Linked DNA regions of Homo sapiens: regions 2 and 3 are each linked to region 1. Evidence: promoter capture Hi-C in human tissues and cell types (Jung and others, 2019). All regions are on one chromosome and are shown on one strand. Each heading gives the region's core, a stretch centred on a gene start or on the middle of the fragment in contact. The rest is flanking DNA. Distances are from core to core; before and after follow the strand shown. Region 1 holds the start of MLNR (motilin receptor). Region 2 overlaps FNDC3A (fibronectin type III domain containing 3A). Region 3 overlaps FNDC3A (fibronectin type III domain containing 3A).

Region 1 (4,757 bases), core at 1,482-3,981:
TTGCCACCCCATGGCCAGTGGCACTGGGAAGGTCCCATGGGCAGTGTCAAGGAGAAGTGGGTTGCAACACAATTGCTTAATACTTCTGAAAGAGGCTATTATTTTGCCTAAACTTTATGATTTGCTGTGATCTGGAGAGAGGTGGGACCCCTGAACACTGGAGTCTACCCAGAATTCCTTTTACTTCTAAAAGTTTTTGCAGCCATACATAGGTATTAAATCATTTCTTGGATCAAAACTATCATTATCCTGGTTCCTTGTAGATGTACTGTTACATTTACATCCAAAACATAAAATACACTCATGATCTCAGAGGTGGCAGTTTTGGGGCAGCATCTTTGTGTATCATTTAACTGTAAAATGAACAATCATCTTTCCGAAGAGTAGGAGAATGAGGACTTCATGAAACCATCACACAAGAGCACACTTTGAGATGTGGGATTTCATGATGGTAAAATCGACCTTCCTTAGGAGGTACGTGGGAAGGAAACTAGAAAGGTTGGCGCAGTTACATTTCATACCTTGGTTAAATAAATCATGCGGTCTATTTCTTAACCAACTGGCACAACTGCAACCCTCTTTCCATTCTTCTTAACAGGATCTGTTCCTCATTTGCAGTCTTTATTTCTCTACACACCTGTTTTCCCCAAAGTCTTAGAACTGCAAGAGGAGCCTGGCTTGGCCGTGCTGGTTATCCCATCGTCTTCACGTTAGCGCTTGTCTCGGTGTAGCCCACCGTGTCTCCTCCAGTGTCCCCTGCAACTTCCCCCGCAGTGTCCCTGCTTCTGTGGAAGCCTCTCGGCCTGGACTTCCTTGCGAGCAGCAGTTTAAAGGCCGCCGCTCTGTACTTCTTTGAAATGAGGTTGTAGAGGATTGGGTTGATAGATGCGCTCAGATAGAAAAGTTGCAGAGCGACGATGTTAAAGTACTGAGAGAAGTACATCATCCGCGAATCTTCCGTGTTTATGTAAATGATTCTGCCAACGTGGAAGGGCAACCAGCAAATTATAAATGCCAGAACCACCACCACTGCAACATAAGACACAGCACCGGGATTAACAAAAGCATTGGGAAGCAAATAAACCCCCCACCCCGACAAGGAACCATCTGCAATAACAAGTAACAGCAAAATAAATTAGAGAAAACTTCTACCTAGGCAGATCCTCACCCCAGAAAAAATGACCAGGCTGCAGGCTGCATGGATACTTGCTTTAAAACTGCATAGTAGGCTCCCATATGTGTTATCAAGGCTGGACATAAACCAGAAGGAGCAATTTCTCTGAACAAGCCGCCTTGGCAGGCTTCCTTCCACAAACCCACTTCGGAGACAAGTTTTCTGTTCTCTGTTGAAAAGAATTCTACAACAGGTCTGCACAATCTTTACTTTTTGATACGAGCAAGGTTTACTTTAGCCTTCAGCATCACTTAACATTAAATAAAAAATTTTAGCTTAATGAAATCTCCCTCGTCTTCTCAAGAGCACTGTGAGGACTCCTCATCTGTGGCATCTAACAGGTGGTTGGATTAAGAATTACCAACTCTCCTTTCTGGTCTCAGAGGCTCTGGAAAAGCACTGCTGGTTACTGAATCGGATCCGGGGATCCCACCCTCAAAGCGCCCTGGGGTCCCCCAGAGCTCCTGGGGGACAGGACATGGTTTTCTCGGGGGATGGGAAGTACCGGCGGGTGGAGGCTGGAATCGAAATAGGAAAGGGAGCTGGAAGCGGCGCCCAGAGCTGGGCGAGCAGGGGAAGGGGACCCAGCGTTTGCGCGGTCCCCGGCGGGGCGGACTGCAGGCAGGCGTCTTTGGAACCACGGCGGCTCCACTTACGCAGGACGCGGACGGTCTGCCGGTGGCCTCTCTCCCGCCCCGAGGCGGCCGGGCCTCGCAGCGGCCGCCGGCTGCTCCACAGCTCCCGCCCGATGAGCCCGTAGAGGATGCTGAGGCACAGAAAGGGCAGGAAGAAGTAGGCGGTGGTGACCCACAGCATGACACGCAGCGCGCCCAGCTGCGCGGGGCTCGGCCGGCATTCGCGGCTGAACAGCGCCGCGGCCTCCGCGGTCTCGGGCCCCGACGGCGGGGACGGCGGTGGCGCCCGCGAGAGCCAGAGAGGCGGCGACGAGGCGAGAGGCGAGGAGGCGATCCGCGCGGTGCCATTGAGGCCCGGGACTACGGAGATGCCGGGGTCCTGCTCGACGCCCACCAGGAACAAGAAGGGACCGGCAGAGAGCAGCGCCACGGCCCAGAGCACAGCGATGAGCGCGCGGACGCGGCGCCGGGTGACCAAGACGCGGGCGCGGAGCGGGCGGCAGATGGCCAGGTAGCGCTCGACGCTGAGCGCGGTCATGTGCAGCAGCGTGGCGTAGGTGCAGCCCTCGCCCACGTAGAGGGACAGGCGGCAGAGCAGCGGCCCGAACACCCAGGGCCGCGAGCGCCAGAGGCGGTACAGGTCGAACGGCAGCCCGAGCAGGATGAGTAGGTCGGACACGGCCATGCTGCCCAGGTACAAGTTGGTGGTGGTCCGCATGTCCCGGTAGCGCCCGATCAGCATCACGGTCACCACGTTGCCGCTCACCCCGACGACGAACAGGCACAGGCACACAGCGGTCACCGGCACCAGCGCCCCCAGGGGAAAGGGCGAGCAGCGGCGCTCGTCGCAAGGCGGCAGCGCGGGCCACGGCGGCTCCCGCGCCCCCTCGGGGCCGTCGCTGCCGTTCCAGGGGCTGCCCATGGGTGCTCCGCGCGGCCGCCGCGTCCCGGGTCGGGCTGGGAGCCTGGCGCGTGGTCCCTCTCGGTGAGCGCCTCCTTTCCCAGCCCGCACGCTGCGGGCGCGGCAGGTCAGACGGCGGAGCGCTGCGCTGCGCTGCGGGGCGCGAGAAGCGGCTCTGCGGGGTGGGCTCCGAGGCGCTCCCGAGCTAGCTGCGCGCAGTCTCCGCCCACGGCCGCGGCCCGCCCCGGCCCGGCCCTGCTCCGCTCCCGCGCCCTCTCCCGGGCCCATGCAGTTCCAGGGCGCTTCCCTCTCCACTAACTGGAATACCCGGCGCCCTTAGCGCACGAGCCCTACCCGGTCCGGTGAGCGATGTCTGCACCCTAGACAGCTTTGGTTACAGGACTGAGCACTGTACGGGCGCTTTTGTCAGTCTGGTACTCCGGGCACCTTCGAAGGGATCTGGTCTGGTGGCTGGTAGCTGCCGCTTGACGGTGGAGGAGGGCTCATGGTAATCCTCAGGAAGCCATAATGCTAAATAATAGGAGGGGAGTCTAGACCAGAATCTAGAGCCTCTCCTGTCTAATCCTGGCTCTACAACCGAGTAACTTGTGTAATCTTGGGCTAGTCCTGGTCTCGCCCAGCCCAGTTCTCCTCTTCTGTAAATTCGCGAGTGGTGGAGGGAGCTGACCATATAATTGACCAAATAATTTCTTTTTTTTCTTTTTTTCTTTCTTTCTTTCTTTTTTTCTTCTTGAGACAGGGTCTCACTGTCGTCCAGGCTGGAGTTTAAGTGGCGCGATCACAGCTCACTGCAGCCTCGACCTCCCAGGCTCAAGCAGTCCTCCCACCTCAGCCTCCTGAGTAGCTGGGAGCACAGGAGCGCCCAAGCCCCGGCTAAATTTTGTGTTTTTTGTGTAGTCAGGGTTTCGCCATGTTGGCCAGCCTGGTCTCGAACTCCTGACCCCAGGTGGTCCACCCGCCTCGACCTCCCAAAGTGCTGGGATTACAGGCGTGAGCCACCGCGCCCGGCAGTGACCAGATAATTTCAAGGATCCGTGAGCATGTTTACTTATTATAAAGAACAAGACAAATATTTACGTGGACACTAGAGTACTTTCACATGTGATATGTCATTCTTATGTACAACATGTTTTATAAACTTAAAAAACTAGAGGATTTGTCAACACCGGAAAGAACGAAAATTGGGGAAAGGGGCTAAAACGGATGTTCAGTCTGTTCGGTGTGGTCTTAATAACAATAGCTAACACTTACTGAGAATTTAGATGGATCTGGCCCTGTGCTCTCCATTTAATCCTCATGGCCCGGGGCGCTCCTTTCGCCCATGAACAAAGCGGTCTTGCTTGAGATCAAGCAGGCAGTAAGAGGCGGGACTGGGATATGGGCTCTGGTCGGCCTAATCCCAGAGCTTGCAAGCCTGACGTCCTACTCACTGCCCAGCTCCACCCCCTCAGTGGCTTAAATCCTCAACCTCTTCTCTGGAGTCTCGATTCTGGACCTGACACCTGGCTTTGCCTAGGGCAAGCTTCTCCTGCAGTTCTCTCTCACATGCAGACTGTGAGCTTGGAGGAGGGACACCTGTCGCCTCCCTCATCGCTGCTGTTTCCAGCGGTCCTAAAACCGCCCTCCCTAGCGCTTTCCTCCGTGGTCACCCGTAGTCCCTGAGGGACAGGTGCCTGCGCTCTCTTTGAAGCACTGCATCTGCGGCCGTTCACACCCATGCCGAGTCTTGGAATGCCTTGGCCTCTAGTTTGTTGACCTCCTTTCCACCTATGACCTTGCTCTCCACCCGATCTCAGCCGCGCCTGTCGACGGAACTTACACCTCACGGTTGCCTGCCAGCCTTCCTCCACCTCCACTTCAGTCAGCCCTCTTTCTGACCTCCGCCCGCTCTCTTTTTAGCTCTCTTCCCCTAGCACCTCAGTTCCGGTAATCCTTCAACCCACTGCGACCTCCATCGCTGGCTCCTCCTTCCTTTTCCCGGTCCCTTGCCTGCCCCAGGTCTTCACTTTCTTCCTTTACCCAACGT
Region 2 (4,757 bases), core at 660-3,159, 91 kb after region 1:
GGTGGCCCATGCCTGTAATCCCAGCTACTTGGGAGGCTGAGGCAGAATTGCTTGAACCTGGGAGGTGGAGGTTGCAGTGAGCCGAGATAGCACCATTGCACTCTAGCCTGGGCAACAGAGCAAGACTCTGTCTCAAAAATAAAATAAAATAAAAATGTAAGAGTAAGAATTTTTACACCATTAGAAATTTTAAAAATTTGGAGAATCAACATGAAAACAACTTATTAAATATATTGGTACATGTAAATTAGCACTAAACAAAATGAATTAGTTTTTGTTATACAATTCAATATAAATCTTAAAACACTGATTAGACAAGCTAAAGAGTAACCTAATAAGTTATGATACTAGATATTTATCCTATGTGTTATGTGCATTTCCTGATGGAGTAATTTTGGTTTAGACACAAGAGGTTCAGGAATCAATTTCCTTTTCTATATTATGACTAGGAGTAGGGGAAAACAAGTTGTGGAAAGACCAAATAGAAAACAAAACAACTGGATCCAGACTCAATCAGATAATCAATGACATGTTAGAATTTGGATGTAAAATTCTTATGACCATGACCAGGACAATTTTAACAGCTGATCATTTCAAGGGACACAAATACTGAATATTACTATATTAACTCCTAGCTAGGAAAAATATCTGTGGCTTTGAGGCTTAGAAATTACAAACTAAAAAAAAAAAACCAAAAAACAAAAAACAGGAATTACACCGTGGGGATAAATTTTTTTAAATGACAAGACTTACTCCTCTTTGAACCTTACTAGAGCTGCAAAGACACACAGGAAACCCTAAAAAATTAAAGGACTTTATCTTAAAATTAGAAATCCCTCACTAAAATAAGGCCCTTATTCTTTTAGACTTATATGGTAATTATTAAGGTATAACAAATGGCTAATACCTTCCTCAGGAAACAGAAAATGATCATAATGTTAAGTGCTAATTTAAAGGCAAATCCTGATTTTCAGGAAGGCAAAGGTTTATTATGCTTAAGGATAGCAAATTATTTTATAAATATATGTGCTTGGTAGGTATAGGTATACTAGAAAACACACTTATCTGGGTATAGATAAGCCTAAATTACAAACATTAATTAGATTATTAAACTATCCTTACCTACTGGAGTGTGACATGACTCTTCTAACAGGGGACTAGATGACCAAATGAATTAACTGTTTTTAATATGCTGGGTCTAGAACCATAATGCCTTGTTTTCAGCAAAATGGATGCCTCAGACCCCTTTCTCCCTATTTAACTCAGTTCTGAATTTAAGTCTCAAGCAAACATATATGATTGATGGGAACTAAACAATATCTAGAACCCTACCTGAAGGGAATCTGGGAACTGCTGATAGCTTTTTAGCTTCTACCCTACAGGAACGAACACTGGAAGAAGTTTGAAATGGATTTTAAGTGAGCCAAATCACAGTATCTGTCACAATACTCATTTCACCTTTATCACTCTCCAATTCACAAATCTTAAAAAACGGAGCCATTTCCAAGAGGCTTGTACTTCATATTCATTCAACCTGGTTCCAAACTACCTTCTAAGTTGTATCGTTCTTTTGCAACAAATCCTGAACCATTAACTGCAGTCAGGCTGGTATAATAAAAAACCTGTTTTCACAGTGACTATACATTTCTATACCCTGTACTTTTATTTATGCAATTATTCTTCTTCACTTTGCTTCCCTTTAATCTATAATAATCTTGTCTATCCTTCCAATTCTAGCTCTAACTTTACCTTCTCCACTCATTTAAAACACTATTTTTCAGCAAAACAAACTGATAATTCAAAGAGGGAAAAACCTCAGAATGATATATTAAATATTTGTGGGGAACCCACACTAACAGGGGCAGACAAACACAACAAGTAAGTTACTTAGCATGTTGCAAGGTGATAAATACTATGGAAAAGGCATAGCAGGTAAGGGCTATTAGAAGTGTTGTGAGAAAGGAGCAGGTTACAGAATAAACACAGGGATCAGAGTAGGCCTTACTGGCAAAGAAAAGCTTAAGCAGAAACTTGAAGGAAGTGGAGGAATTAACTATGTAGAAATCTGGAAGATTTGTTCTAGGAAGAGGGAACAGTTAGAATAAAGCCCCTAAGGTAGAAGTGGGGCTGATTATACCCAAGGGATGAAAGGAAGCTGGTGTGACTGCATGAGTATAAAGGAGCAAAGGCAGAAGCAGATGAAGTCAAAGAAATGAAGCGGTGATAGGGTGGTCAGGTCAGGCACCACGACACAGGCTACTATTAAGGAGTTGGAGTTCATCATTTACTGTCAGTGGAATGGGAAATCATCACAAAGTTTTGGGCAGAAGAGTGATAAAATCTAGTGTTTCTGACTCCTAGAGGATATGTGGTAGGGTCTGGAGACATTTATAGTTGTCACAACTCGGGGCAGTGGGGGAGGTGCACTATTAACACCTAGAAAGTAGAGAGGCCCGGAATACTGCTAAATAACCTACAACACAGAGGGCAACAAAAACATCACCCCACCTCAAATGTTTACATTACTATGGTTGAGAATTCCTGATGTAACCTTATATTTGACAGGACTATTCTGGCTGCTGAGTTGAGAAGAGATCGTAGGGAGGCAAAGACAAAAGCAGGGAAACCATTCAGAAAGCTACTGTAGTAATCTAGGCAAGAGATGATCACAGCTAAGACCAGGGAAGCAGCAGTGGAGATGGTGAGAAGTGACCCACATTCTGCATATATTTAAAAGTAGAAGCCAGGTGCAGTGGCTCACGCCTGTAATCCCAGCACTTTGGGAGGCCGAGGTGGGTGGATCATGAGGTCAGGCGTTCGAGACCAGCCTGGCCAATATGGTGAAATTACATCTCTACTAAAAATACAAAAATTAGCTGGGCATGGTGGCACGCACCTGTAGTCCCAGCTGCTCAGGAGGCTGAGGCAAGAGAATCGTTTGAACCCGGGAGGCAGAGGTTGCAGTGAGCCGAGACTGTGCTGCTGCACTCCAGCCTGGGCAACAGAGCAAGACTCCATCTCAAAAAGAAAAAAAAAAAGTAGAGAAACAAGACAAGATTAGCTGATGATTCCATGTGGGAAGTGAGAAAAAGAAGTTAGGGAACAATAGTCTTCCATCAATGTGATGAGGAAGGCTGTGGAGTAGAACAAGTTTTTTTCAGGGGAAGAGATTTGGAGTTTCAAGTTTTGCACTTGTGAGTTTGAAGAGTTTATAAGACAACTTAGTGGAAATGTTGAATAGACTGTTAAGATATACTAGTCTGCAATTCTGGAAAGATTGGGAAGGGATGACCAAGCGAGGCAGAAGGAAAACTAAGACAGTGTATAGAGTCTGAAGTTTGGTGAAGCATGTCAAGGAGGAAGGATTAACTGTGTCAAATGCTGCTGATAGGTCAAACAAGAGGAAGACTAAGAATCTGACCACTGGATTTAGCAATGTAGACATTACTGTGACCTTGAAGAGGGCAGTTTTGGTATAGTCATAGGGTCAAAGCCCAACTGCAGTGGGTTTAAGTGAGAAAGTAAGGAGAAGAATTAGAGCTAACTGCACAATTTTAAAATGTTCTGCTGCAAAGGGGAATACAGAAATAGGGTGGTGGCTCATACAAGTAGTGAAGTCAAGAAACTTTGATGTTTTGTTGTTTTCAGGAGTGAAATTACAAAAGGCTCAAGATACTAATGAAAATAATCTAGCAGAGAACAAGAAATTGATAACACAGAAGAGAGAAAAGAAAAATGCTAGAGTAATGTGTCCTTACACAGGCAAAATGGGATGGGTTCCAGTATCCCAGTGGGGGAACCGGGTCTGGACAGGAGCAGGAAAGTTTGTGTTACAGATGAGGAAACAGAGTTTGTGGGCTGGATGAGAAGCAGAGCACATAACTGCAGATGTGCAAACACTGGTGGAAGTGTGGGGCTAGGAGTCTGTGGAAGATACCGTTTGACTGTTCCTCCATGAACTCTTCCCTAGGTACCACAATCTCAGTGATCTCTCTCTCCTATAATTTCTACTGCATTTATTCTGTATCACTTGCTGGATATTTGTAACACTGAAATGTTAATTTTCCAGATGCATATGTCTTACTCTATAATTTAAATGTTAAGTTTCTCAAGGAACATATATGAACTATTTGATCCTTGGAACAATGCTACATACTATTATTATTTCAATTTTTCAGATGGAGAAACTGAGACATAGAGATGTTAAATAACTTGCCCAGGGTCATATAGGTAGAAAGTGAGGGAGCTAGTATTTGCACTTGGGCAACTTGGCTTCAGATTCCATGTTCTTATCTACTTTGTGGGCATAGAAGCCATAGGTCTTCTAGTGTCTTTTTTGTTGTTGTTTACGACAAGATATTTATTTGATTAAAAATAAATGGCTAAATTATTTATGAAATTAAAACCACTTTTCTGATGAGTAAGAACATTTAAAATACAAAGATAAGCTTAGGGGAGAGGAAAATGGAGAGCTATTATTTAACAGGTTCAGAGCTTCAGTTTTCAGCAAGATGAAGAGTTCTGTGGATGGAGGGTGGAGCTGGTAGTGCAATGCTGTAAATGTACCTAATGCCATTAAACTGTATACTTAAAAAAGGTTAAGATGGTAATTTTATGTTATGTGTGTTTTACCACAATTAAAAAAACAAACAAAAAAAACCCCCAAACCTAAGATGTAGACAGAAGAGGGGAAAAAAAAAAGCCAGACAAGAACCAAGAGCACGGTGAACTCCACTACCTCAAGCAGCCAGTAACTT
Region 3 (4,757 bases), core at 1,056-3,555, 70 kb after region 1:
GACACATGAAAAAATGCTCATCATCACTGGTCATCAGAGAAATGCAAATCAAAACCACAATGAGATCCCATCTCACACCAGTTAGAATGGTGATCATTAAAAAGTCAGGAAACAACAGGTGCTAGAGAGGATGTGGAGTTACAGGAATGCTTTTACACTGTTGGTGGTAGTGTAAACTAGTTCAACCATTGTGGAAGACAGTGTGGTGATTCTTCAAGGATCTAGAACTAGAAATACCATTTCACCCAGCAAGCCCAATACTGGGTATATACACAAAGGATTATTAATCATGCTACCATAAAGACACATGCACACATGTTTATTGTGGCACTATTCACAATAGCAAGGACTTGGAATCAACCCAAATGTCTACCAATGATAGACTGGATTAAGAAAATGTGGCACATATTCACCATGGAATACTATGCAGCCATAAAAAAGGATGAGTTCATATCCTTTGTAGGCACATGGATGAGGCTGGAAACCATCATTCTGAGCAAACTATCGCAAGGACAGAAAACCAAACACCGCATGTTCTCACTCATAGGTGGAAATTGAACAATGATAACACTTGGACACAGGGCCGGGAACATCACACACTGGGGCCTGTCATGGCAGGTTGGGGGGATGGGGGAGGGATGGCATTAAGTGAAATACCTATTGTAAATGACAAGTTAATGGGTGCAGCACACCAACATGGCACATGTATACCTATGTAACAAACCTGTACGGTATGCACATGTACCCTATAACTTAAAGTATAATAATAATAAAAAAAACAAAAAGAAACAAAAAACTTTCTACTTAAAAGACACAAACTCACTGAATGAATTAAAAAATGTGACCCAATTATATGCTGTCTACAAGAAACTCATCTCACCTGTAAAGATACATACAGACTGAAAGTAAAGGGATGGAAAACGATAATCCATGCAAACAGAAACCAAAAGTGAGCAGGAGTAGCTACACTCAGATAAAACAGACTTTATGTCAAAAACAGTAAAAAGAGACAAAATCATTATATAATGATAAAGGGATCAATTCAGCAAGAGGATATAACAATTCTAAACATATATGTACCCAACACTGGAGCACCCAGAAATATAAAGCAATTATTGCTAGATTTAAAGGGAGAGACAGACTCCAATAAAATAATAGTTGGGGACTTCAACCCCCCACTCTCAGCATTAGACAGATCATCTAGACAGAAAATTAACAAAGAAATTTCATTGTATTTAAATGGCACATTAGACCAAATGGACATAACTGACCTTTGTGAATACATTTCATCCAAAGGCTACAGAAAACACATTCTTCTTTACAACACATGAAACATGAAACATTCTTTAGGGTAGACCATATGTCAGTACACAATACAGGTCTCAACAATTTTTTTTTTTTTTTTTTTTTGAGACGGAGTCTTGCTGGGTTGCCAGGATGGAGTGCAGTGGTGCCATCTTGGCTCACTGCAACCTCTGTCTCCCAGGTTCAAGCGATTCCCCTGCCTCAGCCTCCCGAGTAGCTGGGACTACAGGCGTGCACCACCACACCTCGCTAATTTTTTGTATTTTAGTAGAGACGGGATTTCACCATGTTGGCCAGGATGGTCTTGATCTCTTGCCATCGTGATCTGCCCACCTCGGCTTCCCAAAGTGCTGGGATTAGAGGTGTAAGCCACCGTGCCCGGCCTCAAGAAATTTTAAAACACTGAAATTATATCATATATTTTCTAATAACTTAATAGAATAAAACTAGAAATCAATAACAAGAGGAACTCTGGAAACTGTGCAACTACCTGGAAACTAAACAACATGCTCCTGAATGACCACTGGTAGAGGGACAAATTAAGGAAGAAATAAAAAAAAAATTCTTGGAACAAATTAAAATGGAAACACAAAATATTAAAACCTATGGGATACAGCAAAAGCAGTGCCAAGAGGGAAGTTTATAGCAATAAATGTCTACATTAAAAAGCTTAAAGAGTCTAAATAAACAATCTAGCAATGCACATCTCAAGAACTACAAAAGCAAGAACAAACCAAATCCAAAATTAGTGGAAGAAATAATAAAGATCAGAGCAGACAGCCAGGTGCAGTGGTGCAGATCAGAGCAGACAGCCAGGTGCAGTGGTGCACACCTACAGTCCCAGGTACTTGGGAGGCTGACGTGGGAGGATCACTTGAGCCCAGGAGTTTGAGTCCAGCTTAGGCAACATCGCAAGATGCCATCTCTAAAACAAATAAAAAATCAGAACAGAACTAAACCACCACCTAGACTAATCAAGAGAAGAAGAAAGGGGACCCAAATAAAATCAGAAGTGGAAAAGGAGACACTACAACTGATAACACAGTTACAATCATCAGAGACTATTATGGACAACCTACACCAACAAACTGAAAAATCTGAGGAAGTGGACAAATTCCTAGATACATACTACCTACCAAGATTCAATCAGCGAGAAATAGAAAATATGAACCAACCAATAACGAGTAATGAGATTGAATCAGTAATAAAGAGTCTTCAAACAAAGAAAAGTCCAGGACCAATGGCTTCACTGACAAATTCTACCAAACTTTTAAGGAACACCAATTCTCCTCAAACTATTCCAAAAACATTGAAGAGGAGGGAATTCTCTCTAACTCATTCTACAAGGACAGCATCACTCTGGTACCAAAACCAGATACGGACACAACAAAAAAAGAAAAGTACAGACTAATCCTTGATAAACACGGACACGAAATCCTCATCAAAACACTGGCAAACTGAATTCAACAGCACATTATAAAGACAATACACCATGATCAAGTGGGATTTATACCAGGGATGCAAGGATGGCTCAACATACACAAATCAATAATGTGATACACCATATCAACATAATGAAGGACAAAAATTATATGATCATCTCAATAGATGTAGAGAAATTTTGATAAAATTCAGCATCCCTTCATAAAATCTTTCAACAAACTAGGCACTAAAGGGACATACCTCAACATAATAAAGACCACATATGACAGACCCATAGCTAACATCATACAGAAAGGGGAAAGTCTAAAAACCTTTCCTCTAAGAACTCGAACAAGACAAGGATGCCTACTCTCACCACTCCAATATGGTACTGGAAGTCCTAGCCAGAGCAACCAGCCAAGAGAAAGGAATAAAAGGTATTCAGATTAAAAAAAAAAAAAAAGTCAAATTGTCCTTCTTTGTAGATGACATGATCTTACATGTAGAAAAATCTGAAGACTCCACCAGAAAACTCTTGGATCTGATAAATAAATTCAGTAAGTTGCAGGATATAAAATCAAAATACAAAAATCAGCATCATTTCTATACACTAATAATAAACTAGCTGAGAAAGAAGCCCAAAAGGCAATCACATTTACAATAGCTACAAAAGAAAAAACACCCTAAGAATAAATCTAATATAACAGGTAGAAAGATCTCTACAAGATAAAACTATAAAACACTGATGAAAGAAATTGAAGAGAACACAAACAAATGAAAAGACATCCATTGCTCATGTATTCAAAAAATTAATACCATTAAAATGAACATACTGTCCAAAGCAATTTATATTCAATGGAATCCCTATCAAAATACCAATGTCATTTTTCACAGAAATATAAAAAGTGATCCAAAAATGTCTATGGAACCAAAAAATAGCCTGAATAGCCAACGCAATCCTAAGTAAAAAGAACAAAGCTGGAGGCATCACTCTACCTGACTTCAAAATATACTGCAAGACTATAGTAATCAAAACAGCATGGCATTGGTATAAAAATAGACACAAGAACTAAGGAACACAATAGAGAAGCCAGAAATAAATTTATAGCCAAATGACTTTTTAACAATGGTGCCAAGAACATACACTGGGGAAAGGATACCCTTCTCAATAAATGCTGCTAGGAAAATTGGATATCCACCTGCAGAAGAATGAAACTGGACTGTATCTCTCATCTTACATAAAAATAAACACAAGAAGGCTTACAGACTTAAATGTTTAAGACCTGAAACTATGAAATCCTGGAAGAAAATATAGAAGAAACACTTCAGGACACTGGTTTAAGCAAAGATTTTATGCTAAGACCCCCAAAGCACAGGCAACAACAAAAAAAAGAAAAATAGAGAAATAAACTAAAACTTTTGCACAGCAGAGGAAACAACCAACACAGTGAAGACACAACCCTCAGAAAGGGAGAGAGTATTTGCAAACTATTCATCTAACAAAAGACTAATATCCAGAATATACAAGGAATTCAACTCAACAGGAAAAACACAAATAATCCCATTAAAAGTGGACAAAGGACATGAATAGACATTTCTCCAAAGACATACAAATGGCCAACAGGTATATGAAAAAATACTCTACATCATTAGTCAGGGAAATCCAAATCAAAATTACAATGAGATCATTTTACCCTAGTTAGAATGGCTACTATTACAAAGACAAAAAAATAACAGATGCTGGTGAGGATGCAGAGAAAAAAAGCCCTTATACACTGTTGGTGGAATGTTAATTAGTACAACCAATATGGATACAAGTGTGGAGATTTCTCAAAAAATTAAAAATAGAAATATCATACAAATGAGCAATCCCACTACTGGGTATTTTTCCAAATAGGGGAAAAATCAGTATATTGAAGAGATGTGCTTTTCCCACATTTACTGCAGCACTATTGACAAGAGCAAAAATATAGATCAACCTAAGTGTCCATCAATGGATGAATGGGATAAAGAAAATGTGGTATATATAC

What was found. The method cuts DNA at HindIII sites, captures the fragments that hold promoters and counts their contacts. A contact is called where the count stands out against the background at its distance.
Region 2: a contact is called between a fragment that was not itself captured here and the fragment with the promoter of MLNR in region 1, in 3 of the 25 tissues and cell types used here (IMR-90 fibroblasts, bladder and dorsolateral prefrontal cortex).
Region 3: a fragment that was not itself captured here is called in contact with the fragment with the promoter of MLNR in region 1 in 2 of the 25 tissues and cell types used here (heart left ventricle and lymphoblastoid cells).

Annotation. Positions count from the first base shown.
Region 1 is chr13:49,218,312-49,223,068 of GRCh38, reverse strand. It overlaps MLNR (motilin receptor), which reads right to left and starts at 2,731. Exons shown (of 2, transcript NM_001507.1): 1 at 1,831-2,731; 2 at 692-1,029. The coding sequence starts at 2,731. The coding sequence ends at 692. RefSeq lists silencers at 2,699-2,778, 2,849-3,108, 3,045-3,301. The HindIII fragment of the contact is 10,157 bases long and covers 1-4,757 here.
Region 2 is chr13:49,126,164-49,130,920 of GRCh38, reverse strand. All of the region lies in intron 4 of FNDC3A (fibronectin type III domain containing 3A), which reads right to left. Among named protein-coding and RNA genes, the nearest start is that of MLNR, 92 kb to the left of the region's middle. The HindIII fragment of the contact is 7,041 bases long and covers 1-4,757 here.
Region 3 is chr13:49,147,597-49,152,353 of GRCh38, reverse strand. All of the region lies in intron 8 of FNDC3A (fibronectin type III domain containing 3A), which reads right to left. Among named protein-coding and RNA genes, the nearest start is that of MLNR, 70 kb to the left of the region's middle. The HindIII fragment of the contact is 5,171 bases long and covers 1-4,757 here.